2 separate regions of the Homo sapiens genome follow, and region 2 is linked to region 1. The links are contacts of gene promoters, found by promoter capture Hi-C in human tissues and cell types (Jung and others, 2019). All regions are on one chromosome and are shown on one strand. Each heading gives the region's core, a stretch centred on a gene start or on the middle of the fragment in contact. The rest is flanking DNA. Distances are from core to core; before and after follow the strand shown.

Region 1 (4,133 bases), core at 806-3,305:
CACAGGAGCCCACGGAGGGGGTGGGAGGCTCAGGCATGGCGGGCTGCAAGTCCCGAGCCCTGCCCCGCGGGAAGGCAGCTAAGGCCCGGTGAGAAATGGAGCGCAGCGCCGGTGGGCTAGCACTGCTGGGGGACCCAGTACACCCTCCGCAGCCGCTGGCCGGGGTGCTAAGCCCCTCATTGCCCGGGGCCGGCAGGGCCAGCTGGCTGCTCCCAGTGCGGGGCCCGCCAAGCCCACGCCCACCCGGAACTCCAGCTGGCCCGCAAGCGCCGTGCGCAGCCCGGGTTCCCGCTCGCGCCTCTCCCTCCACACCTGCCTGCAAGCTGAGGGAGCCGGCTTCGGCCTTGCCCAGCCCAGAAAGGAGCTCTCACAGTGCAGCGGTGGGCTGAAGGGCTCCTCAAGTGCCGCCAAAGTGGGAGCCCAGGCAGAGGAGGCGCCGAGAGCGAGCGAGGGCTGTGAGGACTGCCAGCACGCTGTCACCTCTCACTATGCAATGCTTTTCATAGGAACTCGGGAATGTTTGTGTTCTGGACAGGTAGGTTATGGAAAGAGCAGTGGACTCGGGGTCATCAGGACAGGTTCCAATTGTATCAGTGCTACTTATGAGTCAAGTCGACTTAGGAAAGTTATGTATCTCTCAGTTTTTTTGTTTGTTTTTCTTTTTTTTTGAGATGGAGTTTCGCTCTTGTTGCCCAGGCTGGGGTGCAGTGGCATGATCTGTGCTCACTGCAACCTCCCTCCCAGGTTCAAGCGATTCTCCTGCCTCAGCCCCCCAAGTAGCTGGGATTACAGGCGACTACCACCATGCCCGGCTAATTTTGTATTTTTAGTAGAGATGGGGTTTCACTATGTTGGCCAAGCTGGTCTCAAACTCCTGACCTCAAGTGATCCATCCACCTCAGCCTTTCAGAGTGCTGGGATTACAGGCATGAACCACCATACCTGGCCCATATCTCTCAGTTTTGATTCCTTATCCTTAAAATGGGAATATCGTGGTGTTTGGGGGGAAATTGAATGAAAAAAAAAGATATGCAAGCATGGCACCCCCAAAAAACTCATTAAGTCTAACTTGGTTTTGAGAGAACTTCACAGTGACCATGGAACATGTGCTTTTAATATTCGGGCGGCAGCTAATATTGTTACTTTTGAGTATGTGCACATGTATTTCTGTGTTTATCGTAATATTGATGTTAGCCACAACATTTATAGAGCATTGACTGTGTTGGGTGATCAAACTATCCCAGTTTGCCCAGGACTGAGATTGCTCCCAGGATGCAGGACTTAGTGTTAAAATGGGGAAAAACTGGGCTGGGCGCAGTGGCTCACACCTGTAATCCCACACTTTGGGAGGCCGAGGTGGGCGGATCACGAGGTCAGGAGATTGAGACCATCCTGGCTAACACGGTGAAACCCCGTCTCTACTAAAAATACAAAAAATTAGCTGGGCGCACTGGTGGGAGGCTGAGGCAGGAGAATGGTGTGAACCCGGGAGGCAGAGCTTGCAGTGAGCTGAGATCACGCCACTGCACTGCAGCCTGGGCAACAGAGCAAGACTCTGTCTCAAAAAAAAAAAAAAAAACGGGGAAAAACTGGGAAAATATCAGTTATCCTTCTACTATATGCAAATCGCTCTGTACACGTTATCCCGTTAACCCTTCAAAGCAACCCTATGAAGTAGGGACTCACATTATTGCCATTTTACAGACGGAAAGGACACTTGGAGAGATTAAACAACTTGCCAAGCCACACAGCTAATTAATGAGAAGAGTAGGATCTGAAGTATGACCTGTCCAATTGTAGATCCCAAGAACTTAACCACCATACTCTGTGCTTTTCGACGTCTCCAAAGGTCTTTTATTGCTGTTGCCTCTGTTATTCCTGGAACATTGCTAAACACCTTCCCATGTTCCCTTCTGTCACCAACACTTCCTGCTGCCCACCTGGGCCTCCAGCAAAGGGAGACACCAGCTCACAGAGCTAGGTCATGCCCAGTCTTGTATGTAGGCACCGCAGAGGCCCCTCCTTCCCTTAGCAACAGACGCTGAGACATGGTTACTGTGCCCAGCGCCTGCATACAAGCACTGCCAGTGTTAAGAGTCCAGGGAGGAGGAGGGAGAACAGTTCGGGCTGCCAGGATGTTGTTTGGAGGGGTGAGTCTCCCTCTTCTCTGTATTAATGTGTAACTCTGCTTCAGTCTTTCCTCTGCAGTGAACTCAGTGTGTTTCTGGAAAATTTCCAAGAGAGAAGCACTCAAGGGAAAGGAAGCGTGGCCACCGCTGGGGGACTAGGAACCAGAGCCAAAAGCGCAGCAGAAACCCAGTGCTGTCCCCTTATCTCTAGCTTCCCTTTCTCTCCTTTTTTACCAGGGAACTCCTCAGCGGGCCAAAGTCTATGACCTCAGAGAGGCAACCTCATGAACAGAGCTTTCAGAACATCTGGAAAGTTCCATTGTTGGTGTCATCCCCATTATGCTATAAGGAAGTGTGAATTTCAGACCAACTGGATAGGAGAGGCACATCCCTGGAGAAGCTGAAAGCTCTTTATTCATTTTAAAAAAATAGCTACAATTAGAGTGGACACCATGGGTGACATGGATTGCTCATCTCAGAAGGTAGGTGTGAATTTTAAGACGTTTCTTGTTTTACCTGTATTTTTTTTTTTTATTTTTTATTTTGAGACAGAGTTTTGCTCTTTGTTGCCCAGGCTGGAGTGCAATGGTGTGATCTCGGCTCACTGCAACCTCCGCCTCCTGGGTTCAAGTGATTCTCCTGCCTCAGCCTCCTGAGTAGCTGGGATTACAGGCATGTGCCACCACACCTGGCTAATTTTGTATTTTTAGTGGAGACAGGGTTTATCCATGTTGGTCAGGCTGGTCTTGAACTCCCGATCTCAGGAGATCCGCCTGCCTCAGCCTCCCAAAGTGCTGGGATTACAGGTGTGAGCCACCGTGTCTGGCCGATTTACCTGTATTTTTAATGTGTTGGGAATATGTGGGAAGAGGGCCAATTGGCATGTTAGATGCCCTTGACTGAACAAGTGTATTCATCACATTTTTTTGTTGTCTGCTTTGAAATATCATTTTTGCTGAATTAGACTTTTGGAAATCTTCAAGTTTTGCTGTGAAAAATCCGGGAATAGACACCCGTTCTTCCCTTTCCTTCCCTTCCAAGCCCATTAGACCATATATTCCAACCATCAGTTTTTGACTGTGGCTGAACATTAGAATATTCTGGGGAGCATCTTAAAAACATAGAGTCTTGGTCCCCCACTCCTAGATTCCGATCCAGAAGATTTGGAGTGGGGCCCTGGAATCTATATTTTTATCTAAGACCAGAGTGATTCTGGTGTAGCACGTCCTCAGACGAGCATTTGGGAATGGCCTCCATGAAGAACATACATACAACATGTGTAATCAGCAATAAGCTGCCCAAAGTGACAGTTCTACCCAATCTAAGTTCCAGAATTTCTGTTGTATCTGTGTTGAATCACCAGGTTGCCATACAGCGAAGTGCCCAGAGGAGCATTTTAAATAGAAACTTTGTAAAACTAAAGTGGATTTGTAGATAATAACTAAGCCAATATGCTCTGAAGTGAAAGCTCCTTGAAATTTACCAAAGAGAAGATTTAAGCATTAATTTCTTTCTTTCTTTTTCTTTCTTTCTTTTTTTTTTTTTGAGACAGTTTGTCTCTGTTATCCAGGCTGGAGTGCAGTGGCGTGATCTTCACTCACTGAAGCGTCTGCTTTCTGGGTTCAAGCGATTCTCCTGCCTCAGTCTCCTGAGTAGCTGGAACTACAGGTGTGCGCCACCGCCTGGCTAATTTTTGTATTTTTAGTAGAGACGGGATTTCTCCATGTTGGCCAGGCTGGTCTCGAACTCCTGGCCTCAAGTGATCCACCCGCCTCGGCCTCCCAAAGTGCTGGGATTATAGACATTAGCTACCACGGCTGGCCAAGCATTCATATTTTTAACAAACAATTTTGCACAACCAGCTAGTTCTTATGAGAATCTCGATCTCTTGAAGGTGCCACAGAGGATTCTTAGCCATTTATTGCCAGGAAAACTCTTTTAGCCCCATTCTGCAATTGATGCCTAGATCTGCTCATGTTGTGTGTGCCCCATGTGTTCCTGATC
Region 2 (3,802 bases), core at 459-2,958, 380 kb before region 1:
TCAGGAGACTGAGGCAGGAGAATCGCTTGAATCTGGGAGGCAGAACTTGCAGTGAGCTGAGATCATGCCACTGCACTCCAGCCTGGGCGACAGAGCGAGACTCCATATAAAATAAATAAATAAATAAAAATAAAAAGCTATATTAATTAAGATAATGTGGTACCTGTCAGAGAAGGACAAATCAACCAATGAAAAAGAATAGCATGTCTAGAAGGTTCCACACATTTGTGATCCCTGAGTCATGCTGTAGGGAATGGATGGGCTTTTCTGTGAATAGTTTTGGATCATTTGGATACTTATCTATCTATGTATTGATTGATCGATCAATTCATCTGTCGATCCACAGGGTCTCACTATGTTGCCCAGGTTGGTCCTGAACCCCTGAGCTCCAATAGTTCTCCTGCTTTGACCTCCCAAAGTGCTGGGATTACAGGCATGAGCCACCCCACCGAGCCAACGGGATATCCAAATGGGGAACCATGAATCTTTTTTCTCACCATACCTCACACCCCTACCTCACAGCACACACAAAAATTAATTCCTGACAGACTATAGATCTAAATAGGAAAGGTAAAACAATAAAGCTCCTAAAAAATAACATAGGAGCCAGGCGCTGTGGCTCACGCCTGTAAACCCAGCACTTTGGGAGGCCAAGTTCCAGACTAGCCTGACCAACATGGAGAAACCCCATCTCTACTAAAAATACAAAATTAGCCGAGCTTGGTGGTGCATGCCTGTAATCCCAGCTACTCGGGAGGCTGAGGCAGGAGAATTGCTTGAACCCGCGAGGCAGAGGTTGTAGTGAGCCGAGATCGCGCCATTGCATTCCAGCCTGGGAAACAAGAGCAAAACTTTGTCTCAAAAAAAAAAAAAAAAAAAAAAAGACTTGATCCAGAACTCAATGTTGGGTCTGAGTGTGGCTTTTCTGTCTCTCTTTCGTGATGTTGTCTCTCTCTTGGCAAGCTCATTCTTTTTGTGGAAAGAGAGCTACCACTTGTGCCAGGATGGTTTCCATTAATTCATGTAACATTTATTGAGTGCCAATTACGTGGCAGGCTCTATTCTAGACTCTGGGGACAGAGCCTAGACTGTTTCAGGTCTGAAGAGCCTTTGCCTCGGAGCTCACGTTCTGATGGAAGGAGGTAGACCATGATGCATCAACACAGAAAGTCTGGGGTGGTAAGTCACAGGGAGAGGACATGGCTGGGTGGGGAGGTCTCTTCTACAGGGGCCATTTGGGCAGAGACCAAAGGAGGAGTGAACCACATGGCTACCCGAGGGCAGAGAATTCCAGGCAGAGGCTGGAGGCAGGAGCACCCTTCTGGTGTTCAAGGTGCAGCCCGAGGGTGAGGGCAGCCAAGTGCAGGGGTGAGGAGAGAGGCATGGGAGGCAAGGGTGGGTACTGGGGCCCCATAGGCTGGGTGGAGACTTTGGAGCTGCTGCTGGGTTCTGAGCAAAGGGCATTTTCGAGTGGAAAGGCTCAGTTTGGCTGTGCTGCCAAAGAGTTTTCCAAAGTGGTCGTTCCTGTCCTTGCCAGCAGGTCATTGTGTGCTTTCTGGAGGGTGTGCCCAGGTGTCTCCTGTGGATTTAATTTGCACTTCCCTAATGATTAATGATGTGGAGCACTTTGTGCAGATTCATTGGCCATCTGCATATCCTCTTTCACCAGATACCTACTTGAGCCATTTGCCCATTTTTCTCTTGGGCTGTCTGTGGTTTTCTTAGTGATTTTTAGGAGTTCTTTATATATTCCAATTATAAGGCCTTTGTCCATTTTACAAATCTCTTCTCCCACTCTGGGGCTGCCTTTCACCCTCTTTTTTTTTGTTGTTTTTTGTTTTGTTTTGTTTTTGAGATGGAGTCTTGCTTTGTCACCCAGGCTGGAGTGCAGTGGCGCAATCTTGGCTCACTGCAACCTCCACCTCCCGGGTTCAGGTGATTCTCCTGCCTCAGCCTCACAAGTAGCTGGGATTACAGGCGTACACCACTGTGCCTGGCTAATTTTGTATTTTTAGCAGAGACGGGGTTTCTCCATGTTGGTCAGGCTGGTCTCGATCTCCCGACCTCAGGCGATCCGCCTGCCTCGTCCTCCCAAAGTGCTGAGATTACTGGCATGAGTCACCGCGTCGGGTCTGGATCAAGCTTATAGCAATGGTTGCACCTGATCAGTTACACAAGCCAATAGGTGCCCTTTCATGTAAGCCAGTTTGGGTTTCTTTTTACCTATTACTTGCTTGGAAAAAATCCAAAATCAGTACAGTGTTTTTCTTTTCCTTTTTTTTAGATGGAGTGTCGCTCTGTCACCCAGGCTGGAGTGCAATGTCATGATCTCAGCTCACTGCAACCTCTGCCTCCCGGGTTCAAGCAATTCTCCTGCCTCAGCCTCCCGAGTAGCGGGGATTACAGGCACCCGCCACCATGCCCAGCAAATTTTTTTTTTTTCTTTGAGACAGAGTTTTGCTCTTGTCGCCTAGGCTGGAGTGCATTGATGCCATCTTGGTTCACCACAACCTCTGCCTCCCAGGTTCAAGCAATTCTCCTGCCTCAGCCTCCCAATTAGCTGAGATTACAGGCATGGGCCACCACGCCTGGCTAATTTTGTATTTTTACTAGAGATGGGGTTTCTCCATGTTGGTCAGGCTGGTCTTGAACTCTCAACCTCAGGTGATCCGCCCGCCTCAGCCTCCCAAAGTACTGGGATTACAGACGCAAGCCACTGCGCCCAGCCTATTTTTTTTTTTTTTTTTTTTTTGCATTTTTAGTAGAGATTTGGTTTCACCATGTTGGTCAGGCTGGTCTCGAACTCCTGACCTCAGGTGATCTGCCTACCTTGGCCTCCCAAAGTTCTGGGATTACAGGCATGAGCCACCGTGCCTGGCCCAGTATTTTTATTTTCATAGCATTAAAAAATATTCCTCCCAGAAGAGAGAAAGTTTTACAATCAACCTAATTAAATTATCTTCCAATGTCACCTTACAGTCAGATAAGCACAGAAAAATAAGCAGATGCTAATCTGTTTCCCAAGGTGATAAAAGCCGTTTCATTCCGGGGAGATAAAGAATAAGTAGGTTAGGTCAGGCGCGGTGGCTCACGCCTGTAATCCCCGCACTTTGGGAGGCTGAGGTGGGCAGATCACCTGAGGTCAGGAGTTCAAGACCAGCCTGGGCAACATGGTGAAGCCCCGTCTCTACTAAAAAAAAAAAAAAAACGCAAAAAATTAGTCGGGCATGGTGGCAGGCACCTGTAATCCCAGCTACTTGGGAGGCTGAGGCAGGAGAATTGCTTGAACCCGGGATGCAGAGGTTGCAATGAGCCAAGATTGTGCCACTGCACTCCAGTCTGGGCGACAGAGTGAGACTCCGCCTCCAAAAAAAAAAAAATACAAAAACTAGGCTCACGCCTGTAATCCCAGCACTTTGGAAGGCTGAGGCAGGTAGATCATGAGGTCAGGAGATCAAGACCATCCTGGCTAACACGGTGAAACCCCGTCTCTACTAAAAGTACAAAAAACTAGCCGGGTGTGCTGGCATGTACCTGTAGTCCCAGCTACTCGGGAGACTGAGGCAGGGAGAATTGCTTGAACCCAGGAGGTGGAGGTTGCAGTGAGCCGAGATCGTGCCACTGTACTCCAGCCTGGGCAACAGAGTGAGACTCCATCTCAAAAAGAAAAAAAAAAAAAAACTAAGGCTAGGCACGGTGGCTCACGCCTGTAATCCCAGCACTTTGGAAGGCTGAGGTGGGCAGATCATGAGGTCAGGAGTTTGAGACGAGCCTGGGCAATATTGTGAAACCCTGTCTTTTC

What was found. Contacts are between HindIII fragments. The study calls those that stand out against the background at their distance.
Region 2: a fragment that was not itself captured here is called in contact with the fragment with the promoter of DNAH3 in region 1 in 1 of the 25 tissues and cell types used here (stomach).

What each region holds. Positions count from the first base shown.
Region 1 is chr16:21,148,768-21,152,900 of GRCh38, reverse strand. DNAH3 (dynein axonemal heavy chain 3) reads left to right here and starts at 2,055. Exons shown (of 62, transcript NM_001347886.2): 1 at 2,055-2,150; 2 at 2,367-2,611. The coding sequence starts at 2,582. The HindIII fragment of the contact is 16,051 bases long and covers 1-4,133 here.
Region 2 is chr16:21,528,479-21,532,280 of GRCh38, reverse strand. No RefSeq gene overlaps it. Among named protein-coding and RNA genes, the nearest start is that of MIR3680-1, 24 kb to the right of the region's middle. The HindIII fragment of the contact is 9,736 bases long and covers 1-3,802 here.